3 separate regions of the Homo sapiens genome follow, and regions 2 and 3 are each linked to region 1. Evidence: promoter capture Hi-C in 16 types of primary human blood cells and fetal thymus (Javierre and others, 2016). All regions are on one chromosome and are shown on one strand. The core of a region is centred on a gene start or on the middle of the fragment in contact, and the rest is flanking DNA. Distances in the headings are between cores, read along the strand shown. Region 1 holds the start of LIX1 (limb and CNS expressed 1). Region 2 has its middle 6.0 kb from the start of ERAP2. Region 3 has its middle 23 kb from the start of ERAP2.

Evidence for each region. The method cuts DNA at HindIII sites, captures the fragments that hold promoters and counts their contacts. A CHiCAGO score of 5 or more calls a contact.
Region 2: a contact is called between a fragment that was not itself captured here and the fragment with the promoter of LIX1 in region 1, in 10 of 17 cell types (megakaryocytes, naive CD4 T cells, naive CD8 T cells and 7 more). The highest score is 8.2, in megakaryocytes.
Region 3: a contact is called between a fragment that was not itself captured here and the fragment with the promoter of LIX1 in region 1, in 14 of 17 cell types (total B cells, naive B cells, fetal thymus and 11 more). The highest score is 10.5, in total B cells.

What each region holds. Positions count from the first base shown.
Region 1 is chr5:97,140,986-97,144,850 of GRCh38, reverse strand. It overlaps LIX1 (limb and CNS expressed 1), which reads left to right and starts at 2,240. Exons shown (of 6, transcript NM_153234.5): 1 at 2,240-2,356. The coding sequence starts at 2,275. RefSeq lists an enhancer at 2,224-2,293. The HindIII fragment of the contact is 8,667 bases long and covers 1-3,653 here.
Region 2 is chr5:96,868,586-96,872,480 of GRCh38, reverse strand. It overlaps a transcript of ERAP1 not described here. Among named protein-coding and RNA genes, the nearest start is that of ERAP2, 6.0 kb to the left of the region's middle. The HindIII fragment of the contact is 558 bases long and covers 1,813-2,370 here.
Region 3 is chr5:96,851,533-96,855,135 of GRCh38, reverse strand. It overlaps a transcript of ERAP1 not described here. Among named protein-coding and RNA genes, the nearest start is that of ERAP2, 23 kb to the left of the region's middle. The HindIII fragment of the contact is 2,974 bases long and covers 48-3,021 here.

The sequences.
Region 1 (3,865 bases), core at 991-3,490:
TGTCTTTATTAGCAGCATGAACTAATACAGTGAGTATAATAGGAATTATTATTCTAGTTCGGTTCCATCTATTTCCTTTTATGAAGCCTGCTCTTCTACAAACTAGCTGAAGAAGCTGATCACATGGAAGGTATTTCATTTTTATACAGTCTTTAAAGGTCTACTTTCAGTTCATCATAAAATACAACCTAGTTATGGAATCTGAAAATTGGAAGAAACACTGGAAAGCAATCTTTGTGGCTACCCTGGAAAAATATTTTAAATAAAAGTTTGACAATCCTCAACAACCTCCTTCAACAAGTAACATTGGTTACAACCACTAAAATTAGTTATTTTATATCTGGTATAAATCCTTATTATGGAAAAGGAATCCTGTGACTTATATTTATGTCTTCTATGGAAAGATTATTTAACAAAGTGTTACAGGTAGTATAGATCATGAATAGGTAGAAAAAGAATTTCTGTTTTCTTAAGATCTTTAAAGGCCAGGCATGGTGGCTCATGCCTGTAATTCTAGCACTTTGGTAGGCCGAGATGGGTGGATCACTTGAGGCCAGGAGTTTGAGACCACCCTGGGCAACATGGTGAAACCCCCTCTCTACTAAAAATACACAAATTAGCCAGGTGCGGTGGCGTGGGCCTGTGGTCCCAGCTACTAGAAAGCCTAAGGTGGGAGGACCGTTTGAGACTGAGAAGTCAAGGCTGCAGTGAGCCCGGATCATGCCATTGCACTCCAGCCTGCATGACAAAGTGAGACTCTGTCTCAAAAAAAAAAAAAAAAAAGGATACAGCTAGGGACTAAATTAAGCCTTGCATTTGAATTCAGGAGCCACTCTTCTGGAAGCCAAGGCTTGTTACCCCCCACAACCCTCCCAAATTTTAGTCACTTCTATTGGGCAGGGGCAAGTAAAACCTGACAGACTGTCTTACAGCTTGCCTGGGAACATTTGTTTCCCTATTTACCCTTCAAAGTGAATCATTCCCAAGGTTGACTTTAATTAATTCTGATGTAATTCACTTCCTTTCACTTAATAATTATTAAAAATTTCAGGGCAGGGTGCAGTGGCTCACGCCTGTAATCGCAGCACTTTGGGGGCCCAGACAGGATGATTGCTTGAGCCCAGGAGTTTGAGACCAGCCTGGGCAACACAGTGAGACCCCATCTCTACAGAAAATTTAAAAATTAGCCAGGCGTGGTGGCGTGTGCCTCCCAACTACTTGGGGTGCTGAGATGGGAAGATTGCTTGAGTCCAGGGCTCAAGCCCCTCACTTGAGTCAAGGCTGCGGTGAGTTATGATCACGCCACTGCACTCCAGCCTGGAGGACAGTATGAGACCCTATTAAAAAGAAAAATAAAACAAAGAAACAGGACGAGAAAATACATATATGTTTCTTAAGGTAGTTATTGAAAGATTTTTTTAAAAAATTGAGACAGGGTCTTACTTTGTCACCAAGGCTGGAGTGCAGTGGCACAATCTGGGCTCACTGCAGCCTCGACTTTCCAGGCTCAAACCATCCTCCTGCCTTAGCCCTCCAAGTAGCTGGGATCACAGGCATGCACCACCACACCCAGCTAATTTTTGTATTTTTTGTAGAGTTAGGGTTTCGCCATGTTGCCCAGGCTGGTCTGGAACTCTTGGGCTCAAGCGATCTGCCCGCCTCAGCCTCCCAAAGTGCTGGAATTACAGGCATGATAAACTGCACCCAGCCCCATAATCTTTATAGCACTCCTTTACCAAAGAAGAATTACACTGAAAATTTAGATTTATAGGGATTATACTGTTAACATATAGCTGGCAGTCCTGAGCTGGAAGCTGTCTTGTCATTCAGGAAATTTCCTGGAGAAATAACCTTCCTGATTCCATATTCCTGGGGGCAACACAATTGAAGATGGAGGGCCAGAAGAAATACTCAAGTCAGAAAGCTGCACAGCATTCAGACAAAATCTGGTTGGAGAGGAAAGCTGTTTTCATAATTTAGCGAGCTTCCCCAGCTAGCCTGTAGGTGGGTGTGTTTAACAGAAGAAAGCAATGGGAACCCGCCTGTCAGCCAGCCTTTCGAGCTAATTAGCTCAGCATACAACAAAGATAAGTGAGCCTGGGAAGAGGGCCCCCTGAGGGGTCTTTAGATTCTGGGAAATGTCTGATTGGCAGATGTTAAAAGGGATTCCTTGGTAATCCAGTGCATCAATGAGCTGCAGAAATTCAGCCCAGGACTGCAAGAATTCAGGCATGAGGACACTCTGTACAGGAGGCTCACACAGGCAGACCCAAGATGGACAGAACCTTGGAATCTCTGAGACACATCATTGCCCAAGTCTTGCCTCACAGAGATCCGGCTCTAGTCTTCAAAGACTGTAAGTACTGAAGGGGGAAAAGTTTTTTGACTTTTTAGAAAATAGTCCTAAACGTCAAGTCACATCCTATTTAAGTAAGATTTCTCCTAAATCTCTGCAGTCGTATGCTGTGTTCTAAGTGATATTTTAACTTGTTCCTGACTTCAGCCAGAAGAACGATTTCATTTCACCTACAGGCATTAGGCACTGGGTTATTCTGTCAGTGATACATCTTGCTAACTACTTAGAAGTCTCTTCTACAATCCAAGACCTGCCTAAGACTTAATGAACTTTTTCTGATGCTTTTTAAGTAAAGCAAAGCTGACTGGTGTTGAGATTAAACCTAAAAATAATTTGGAAATGATACTAGAATATATCAATATTTGTTAACCTGTTTAATACTCCACAACACATATTAGCTATGTTAATTCAAGTATCGTGTTTGTCTGAAAATATTTGTTGCAAACCAGAATTAACAGTAAATCACCACTGAACTTTTAAATTTTGATAACAGATTATAATGCTTTAGTTAAAAGGCCAATAAAATGAGATGCCTCCTAACCTCAGCAACACTCCCTGTGTGGACCCCCTACCACCATCACCAATTTATACAGCATGGCAAAGTTATTTCAAAATCTTTTTTTTAATGATTTAAAAATAATTCAATCAAGATTTCCAATTCTAGCAATACTATTAAACCATTTGTCATATAACTTCGTTTCTGGAACCAATTTGATTTCCTGCTGCTGCAAAACAGACTATCTTCATGTTGTATCTTATCTACAGTGGGTTTCATATTACAAAGGGCTTCTGAAATAGAACTGCCCAAAAGGTAAAATGCATATGGAATTTTTTTTAACTTCAATAGGTTGCAGCTTTCCTCTTTGTGAATCTAGTTGTGTTTGTCTCCATCAAAACATCAATGGTTTGAATTTTTGCTTTCTGATTGCTGAATAACGTTCCATTCCAGATGTCCTCTTAGCTTAGATTTCTCATATGTATGTTGAAGAAAGAGGAATGTTAGGCCATTTAATTCTATAAATTTTTCCTCTTAGATGTTAAATTGTAACCAATCTGTCCTTTAAGGCATAAAGTGAAAGCCTTTTCTTTCTCTAGCTCTCTTTTTAAATATTGTCTTTAGGCATTTGCCAATAACTATGTTAGATCTAATAAAAATCACTCTCTCCACTACTCTAGCCTGGAGTCTATTCAGGTTTGTTATGTTTTTTAAGCGAAAAGGGGAGGAAAGAATGTCTCTCTCCTACAATAGAACTGATTCACTAGTGAGGGATAAAAGGGCTCTCGGGCTGCCCAAGCTTTGGATAAATTGTATAGGACCAGGGTTCTTATGCTGAGCATTTAAATAGGGGAAGCAGTTAAAAAAAAAATAGGGGGGACGTTTTTCACTGGCCCATTGAAAACTTAATAAGTTCAAATGTGAAACTGTATAGCTCATTTTTTAGCTGAACTAAATTGCTGCGATTGTTTACAGTTTAGAAAAGAAGATAGACTAGAAAAAGGATTACAATA
Region 2 (3,895 bases), core at 842-3,341, 270 kb after region 1:
GCTACAGGTGTGCACTACCACACTTGGCTAATTTTTTAATTTTTTGTAGATATGGGTTTTCACCATGTTTCCCAGGTTGATTTCGAACTCCTGAGCTCAAGTGATCCACCTGCCTTGGCCTTTCTTCCTTTTTTTTTTTTTTTTTGAGACAGGGTCTCATTCGGTCACCCAGGCTGCAGTACAGTGATGTGATCTCGGCTCACTGCAACCTCTGCAGTGGGGAGATACAGAATGAATAAAATGACGAATGGCTCCCTGACAGTGCTAGATGCTTGTAACTCTGAAGCCAACTTATAGTTTAAAAAGTAGCTTCCTTTTCTCTGACTTCCATTTTATTTTTCAAAAGGATCTCTATAAATCTATTAAAAATACTTCTAAGAATTATTGTTATGCCTATGTTCTTTTTCAGACAAAATAGAGACAGAGTCTATATTATGGGCTTAAAATTTTTAATTTAAAGAAAATCAGTGAAAGTTTATGTTAGTATAAAGACTCAGAGCCTTATGCAAAATATGAGAAATGGGGGTAGGGAGGGGAAATTCACCTAGTAAATGCAATCTATAGCTTCTTTTAAACTCATTCAGTTGTAACAGAAAATGAAAACATGTATTCTCAGAATTTTAAATCAGTAACTGACAGGAAGATGGTTTTTCAAAAATGGTTATCTTTTGCAATGCCTTCCACAAAGCACTTACTGAAAACAAAAACAGAAAAATGCCGCCATAAAAATCTGATGTTGTTAAAGTGGAACAGAATATTAGACAAACTTGACATTGAACAACTGCTATTTTACAGCATTAAAAATTTTTATTTAGTAGCCAAATGAAAAATGCTGGTGCCTCTGTTATTTTCTTTCCAATTACAGATTATTTAAATAACTGATGACACATTCTCAAACAGGAAAAATGATGGCAAAATAAACCAGGGTGATTCTGAGCTTGTTAAATATTTTGAAAGTAAATTTGCATGCTTTCAACCAACCGATTAAAACCAACTGATTAAACCAAATCAGTAATGTTTTGGCTTCTCCCCTACTTAAAAATTTAACTAAAAGATCTAAAAAAACTTTTGCTTCTGGCCAAGATAGAGTAGGGACTCTGATTTATTCTCCTGCTTAAAACAACCAAAAAAAGATGAACAAAAGACAGTTTACAAGACAATGAATATCAGGCAACCCAAGACAGCAATCCCTGGAGAGAAGGAAACAAATAGGCAAGCTCTGTGATTTTCCCAGCTTTCTGCCTTGAGAGAGGTTCCAGGCTGCTTTGCAGGGAGACAGAACTAAGGCAGAGCCCAGCAGATTCTTTGAGTTGAGGAGATGCAGATGAGATTCTGGGAGAGCAAGGAAACCAGAGTTCATAGGATGAATACCAAAGAGGAGAGAGCTGCAGAAAGAGACGAACGGTGTGTGGGAGGGCAGGCTTTGGAAACCTGCTGAGGATTTTCCTGGAGTATTCTGCTGATCAATGATCAATATGCACATGAGCAGAAAATAAACGTTGCCAGAAACTGAACCACTGAAAAGGATTAGTGGGAACAAAGCCTGGTGCTTGCACAGAGACAGAAGTAGTGCTTGTGCCTACCCATCAAACTGGAGAACCTCAAGATGAATGGGCCAATGGGTAGAGTGTGCTAAAGTGTCTTACCTCAGTAGTGGGGAGCAGATAAGTCTCTGCTCTGGTCCTGCCTAACAAATCTTAAAAGCAGGATCCAAAAGGATGAAACTTCTCAAGTAACTTATCTGTGTTCCAGCACAAAACTCAATAGCATAGTAATAAAAGAAAAATCCACCACCCAACTAGGCAAAAAGCTTGGTGGTGATTTTTGAACCAACTGGGTTTATTAACTCACTACATCAAGGGAAAACACCCTGGGGAGCCCTGGGGCATCTCAGAAAGAGAGTGTCAGAAAGGGGTCATTATGGGATGTTATAGGTGATTTGCATGAGAGTTTCATGGGGCAGGGCTTCGTTTTGGTTTAAATGTTCTAAGAAAGTGGGGGTGATTCTATGATTTCGTATCTTATTAAGAGATTAGACAAAGGCTAAGGCTGAAATTGGTGAAGAAACAGCAGTCATTCATATTAGCCAGGACCTGAAGATGTTTGGTCATTTTTGTGGTTTGGACAACGTTCATGTTTGCCTGTGTTCAGACATGATTATGGAGTTGGCTTGTGTTTGTCTTGATCCATCAGAGTCACAAGAGTGGTTGTGTCTGATGTTCATATTCCATGAAATTGTTTGTGTTCAACAGGAGAACACTGAGGTCTGGCTGTGAGTGCCCATTCAGCTCCTGGCTGTCAGAGACTGCCTTTCTCATTACTCTCAGCAGCTCTCAGATTTTGCAGCCCCTGGTCCTACTATCAAAAGCTTAGTCTGCCTCTTGGTTTCCTCTTCCAAATCTGCAAATGCCCCTGGGGAATTTCTGGAATCCCTCGTTCACCTCTTTGGGTTTCCAACTTTTCTAGAATCTTAGCTTAGTAATTCTTCACTATCTTTTTAGACTTTTATGCTTTAAAGATCTTTTTCTATTTTGTCTGTGTTTACAATTGTCTTCAGTGGGAGGGTTGGTCCAATTACATACTGTGCCATTACAGCAAAAGGCAGCACCCTCCCCCATCCCTGTCCCACTTGCAGATTTCCCTAAGCCTCCAAAAAGGTTTTTCTGGGCCTTTTGCCTGGGCACCCATCCTCTTCTCCGAACCATTTCAATGTGGATAGATGTCTGATCACCTTACAATAGCTCCACAGTCTTCATGGTCAGATTATTGAGGAGTTTTCACTAGACTTATGTTTAGGCTTCCCTAATTCAACACTCTTCGTTTCCTTCAGCTGTCTTCCTAACTCTCCAGAGCCATTTGACAATGTTTTTTGATATTTGAATACAGCAAAAAACCCCAAGCCCTTTGTTCCAGACAGATTGCTCCTTCTACCATCCTTTTCTATAAAAATCCTGAATCTACCTGTTATTTTCTAATAAATCTGTAAACTAAATAAATATGAGTGGGCTCATGGTTGTACTTTGGAAATATGTTGAGTAAGCTAATTCTCAACTTTCATCCAGGAGTAAATAGAGTCTTCTTCTTTTCATGAGTGTCCTCTGTTTGTACCTCTCTGAAGCCAACACTTGGTATAAAACTAGTCAGTGGAGGGTAGAGGGTGATGGGTACATACTTTTAAATAAGCAGTTATCAACTAGAGAAGTTATGGATTACAGCCTTCAGGCCATGATGTACAGTTTACCACCTAGCTTTCTGAATTTTATTGACTAATAAGACAGGTCACTCTATCTTCAGAGCAAAGCAACTCTGTGTAACCCTAGCTATGCATTTTAAATTACAATCAGTGTCATCTAGTAGCCAACCAACAAGTTCTCTTGAGCGAAGAAAGCAAAAGCAGCAGGAGCTTCATCTAGTGGTAACAAGTGTAACTGCAGAGACTCCTGTGTTGTAGAGCTAACACTGTGCAAACACACATCTTGAGGCAAATCACACAATCCAAAAAGCAATAACATTCTACGAGTATACAACCCAGACTTAAGATAATCAGATTTATAGGTAGGCTTGGATTTCGATATATGAAGTTGAGGACTGGGGGTGAGAATTTTTATGATACCATTACTAAATCTAATTTGAATGCTTGAATAACTATGCATTAGTAGAGCCTAGGGCAGTGATTCTCAGAGTATGCCTTGCCCCTCCAACAGCATCAGCAGCATACTGAACATTTGTTAGAAATGCAAATTCTCAGTCTTTCCCAAATGGAATTAATTGGAAACTCGGGGTGACGTCTAGAAATCTGTATTTTAACAAGCTTTTGAAACGGTTCTGATACACACTAAAATTTGAGAACCACTAGCCTAGGGTTAGGAGTTCAGGATCTTAAATAAAACATTCC
Region 3 (3,603 bases), core at 285-2,784, 290 kb after region 1:
CAATTTCCCCCAACATGCTAATGTTTTAAACCCATTATAGTCAAGCTTTCTTACTAATAGAGAAAAAACTTCATAATATATTAAGACTTTAAGATAAAACCTATATAATCTGCAGAAATGCCTTTCATTTGTGTAAAATGTGACTTATTTAGTGGTTTGAAAAACTGCTAGATTTTCTATATGTTAAGCTCTTTGGGGAGTTTCAAGAAAAGATGAAGCCTGAAGATATTTCTCTCATGTTAAAAAGAAAATTAATGATTAAAAAGGCTACCCTTGGATAGTATTTTAAGTTTTGGTTAAACTTCTTTCTATAGAAGTGACTGTTTCAAGGACATTCATTTTAAAAGAAAAATAAAGCATGACTCCATGGTAAAAGGCCACAAGGGTTGGAATGACTGAAATTTTATGGCAAATGCCCATGGAAATTGAACCATAATAGCATAATTTCTTATTAGGATTCTAACTGTTTGTGTTAGAGTCTTGATTTCAAACCTGTATTGGATTTAAATATCTTATTATTAATGCATTTTTCCCAAAGACCCTATTATTTTTAGTGTGCAATTTTTCCAAAATGTGAAGTTTTCTGGGGACACACATGGTATCATTGTAAGATGCCTATACTTGGCATTTGAACAAATAAGACAAAAATAAAAATTAAGAGTGCTCAGAGGTTTTTTTTTTGTTGTTTGTTTGTTTTTTCACATTGGCCTTCAATGATTTGAGTGCATAGACCTGCTCAAAGTGATTCATTTATACATCCAAGTTAAATTATGGACTGCAGACCAGTTCAAGTATGTTTACATACTTGAGGTATCTATTGAATCATAAACATAGTACTAATTTGCAACATTGACTGCAGTCTCATAATGACATTTGCCAGATAGACACTGCTAAGTGGTGTCTTTGCATGATCATCTCATTTGATTCTCATAAGAGATTTAGGAGGTTGATACTATTATCCATATTTTATAGATAAGGAAACTAAAGTAATTAGCTCGATAACATAGCTGTGTGTGTGTGTGTTTGTGTTTATTCAAGATTTGGGAGGGAAGGCAATGGTTAGAACAAGGTTATTTGACTCAGAACAAAGTCAGAAATGGCTGCATTCACAGATTTCTTTCACTGAGGTGACATCTTTCAAAACCCATCTTTTACCTGTCCTTTATAAATGAATGTTTCTTCCTCTGTGGGCACAAATGCAATTGCTATCACTGTTAAGAGCATGTATTATTTTGTTCACTTTTCTAAGGTGCAGAAAAGTCCTCATGCTTCTTTTTTTTTTTTTAGAACTTTTAAATAGCCTAAGGTTGATTGATCATACTTGTAACTGTGTCTTCTACTACCTTAGGTACTCGCTCACAAAACACATTTAAAATACTACATGAAGTGGGTGATCTTTCCAAAGCCACAGTTCACTGTGAGTTCCAAATTCTCATCTGCCACTGGCCTGTGTGCAAAATGAGTTTTGCCTTTTTAAGTTTGTTCCCTATTCTATGATGTGAATAAATACACATCATAAAACCCTTCCTGGGAGAAGATGAGTTCATTGAGCCAAATTAAGTTGATTGTAGCTGTCCTCTTACCTAAGAGCTGCTTTTATATCTCCCAGTTCTAGACATTTGTTCATCTGTACACACTTCTAACTAGAGATAAGTATATAAGGCATTGATATTGACTTTTGGAATAATGCTTTTGAAGTCGGTAGTGTACCTAAGGCAGGTTTGGCCTCTCTGTCCTGGAATCATAGAATTAGATTTACCTGCAGACTTCTCATCTCTTTCCACTATAGTCTAGATCCTGTTCTTTCCTTCTTCTGCCCTCAGGTTGCTTCAAACTGGGGCAGAGAGCAAACAACCTCTCCCCTGGGATCAGGGGCTACAATATTATCTTTAGAGAATAAAGTTTGGCTATTCCTTTGTCAGTAGGTTTTTGGACCTAAAGGCTCATTTATTCTTTCTGTTTTAGCAGAGTCTCTGGCCTTGATCCCTTATGTGCCTAATTCTGCATTTGTTGAATAAATGGACAAGTGCATGTCCTGCCAGCTCAGTCCAGTCTCCCAAGCCTGCCCCTGGAGTGAATCCAGGGGCATGATTTCTAGCAACCCAAGAGAAGGGTTTTAATAAAATGTCTGAGAAAATCAAATTTAAAGTCGTCTACAGTCTACTTGTCACTTTGCCTCATTGTGGGTAGAGTACACTCATTTTTCATGGTGGATGAATCATAAGTTAATTTAAAACAGTTTAGCCATGAAAATTCCTGTAGCATGTGCAGAAGTAAGATTAAATTTAAGGCAATAATAATTCCCTGCCAAGAGAAAATGAATATATTCATCAACGTACTTCATTTGAAAAGTAATTGAGTCACCATTTCTATTCACATTACCATCTGAACATTGTAAAGCTAAATTTAAAACTACGGGATTTTAAAATGATTTTTTGAAAAGTCTATTTTAATTGTCAGCCTTGAATATAGGACTTCGCATCTAAAATCTTGTTCTTTCAAAAGTAGGAAAGTACTAAATTTATGGAAAATTATACCATTTTTGTTATTGTTAAATAGGGAGACTATATCCTGCCCTTAAATTTTAACTAGAAAATGTGGGGAATGGAATTTTTAAAAACATTTCTTTCAAATCAAACCTAAGAACGTACTTTCCTAGGCTAGAAACCTAGATGTGTAAAAATTGTATTTAAATTTTCTTTTCTATGTCTGACTTCTACTTTGAGGCCCAAAGCCACCTGCTGATGGAGACATCAGGGTTTCTGTACTACCTGGAGGTGGGGAGGGCACTGAATATTACACACAGATGGGAGAGGTTGGAGACACGGATCTGTCCACACTCAGCATTTGTCCATGTTAGCATCCTTTCTCATAAAAACAATATTTTATCTATGTCATTTCTGCCAGATTTCATGATCCTGAGTATATAAGGCCAAAACATTTTTTAATAATAACATTTAAATCATAATAAAATGTAAAAATAATAGAAGTGGGTGTTTAGAAGTGAATCAAGTTTAAGCTTTTCCCACAGAGTAAGTTTGTTGAATGAATGAGTGAATGAGTGAATGCCTTAATTACCACGCTTTTTGGGGTTGGGGGCTATTTGCCCCTCTCTCCACATGACAGAACTGCTCTAAGTTTCTTTGCTGCTCTTCTCAGCTGTCAGACGGCTTGCTGCTTGTTTTCCACACCACCATGTCTATTCTGTGCTGTCCTTTACTCTGCCTGTTTTTTTCCTTTTGTATTTCTTCTGGCTCTTGTCCCTTTTCCCACGTGTCTCAGCTTTCCTTTATTGCCACTTTCAGTCAGAGCAGTCCTGTGCTTCTGGTGCCGGCATACAATACTTACTTGAGTTTCTTGGCTTTTCTTGACTGTGCATCTCTTACTTCAACATAGGAATAGCCTGTCATAGAATTTCTCCAGTTCCAGGGCTCAAGAGGGAGAGTGCCAGAAAATTGAGACTGTTTTCCCTGTCTTGGATTGAATTCATAAAGCAAAACCAGTGTTTGTGTGAGGGTTTGCTGTGTCATGCCTATAGGTTGTTTGGGTGCAAACCTATAGAATCCAGCCTGGGAAAAGAAAGAAACCAGAGAATAGCAGCAT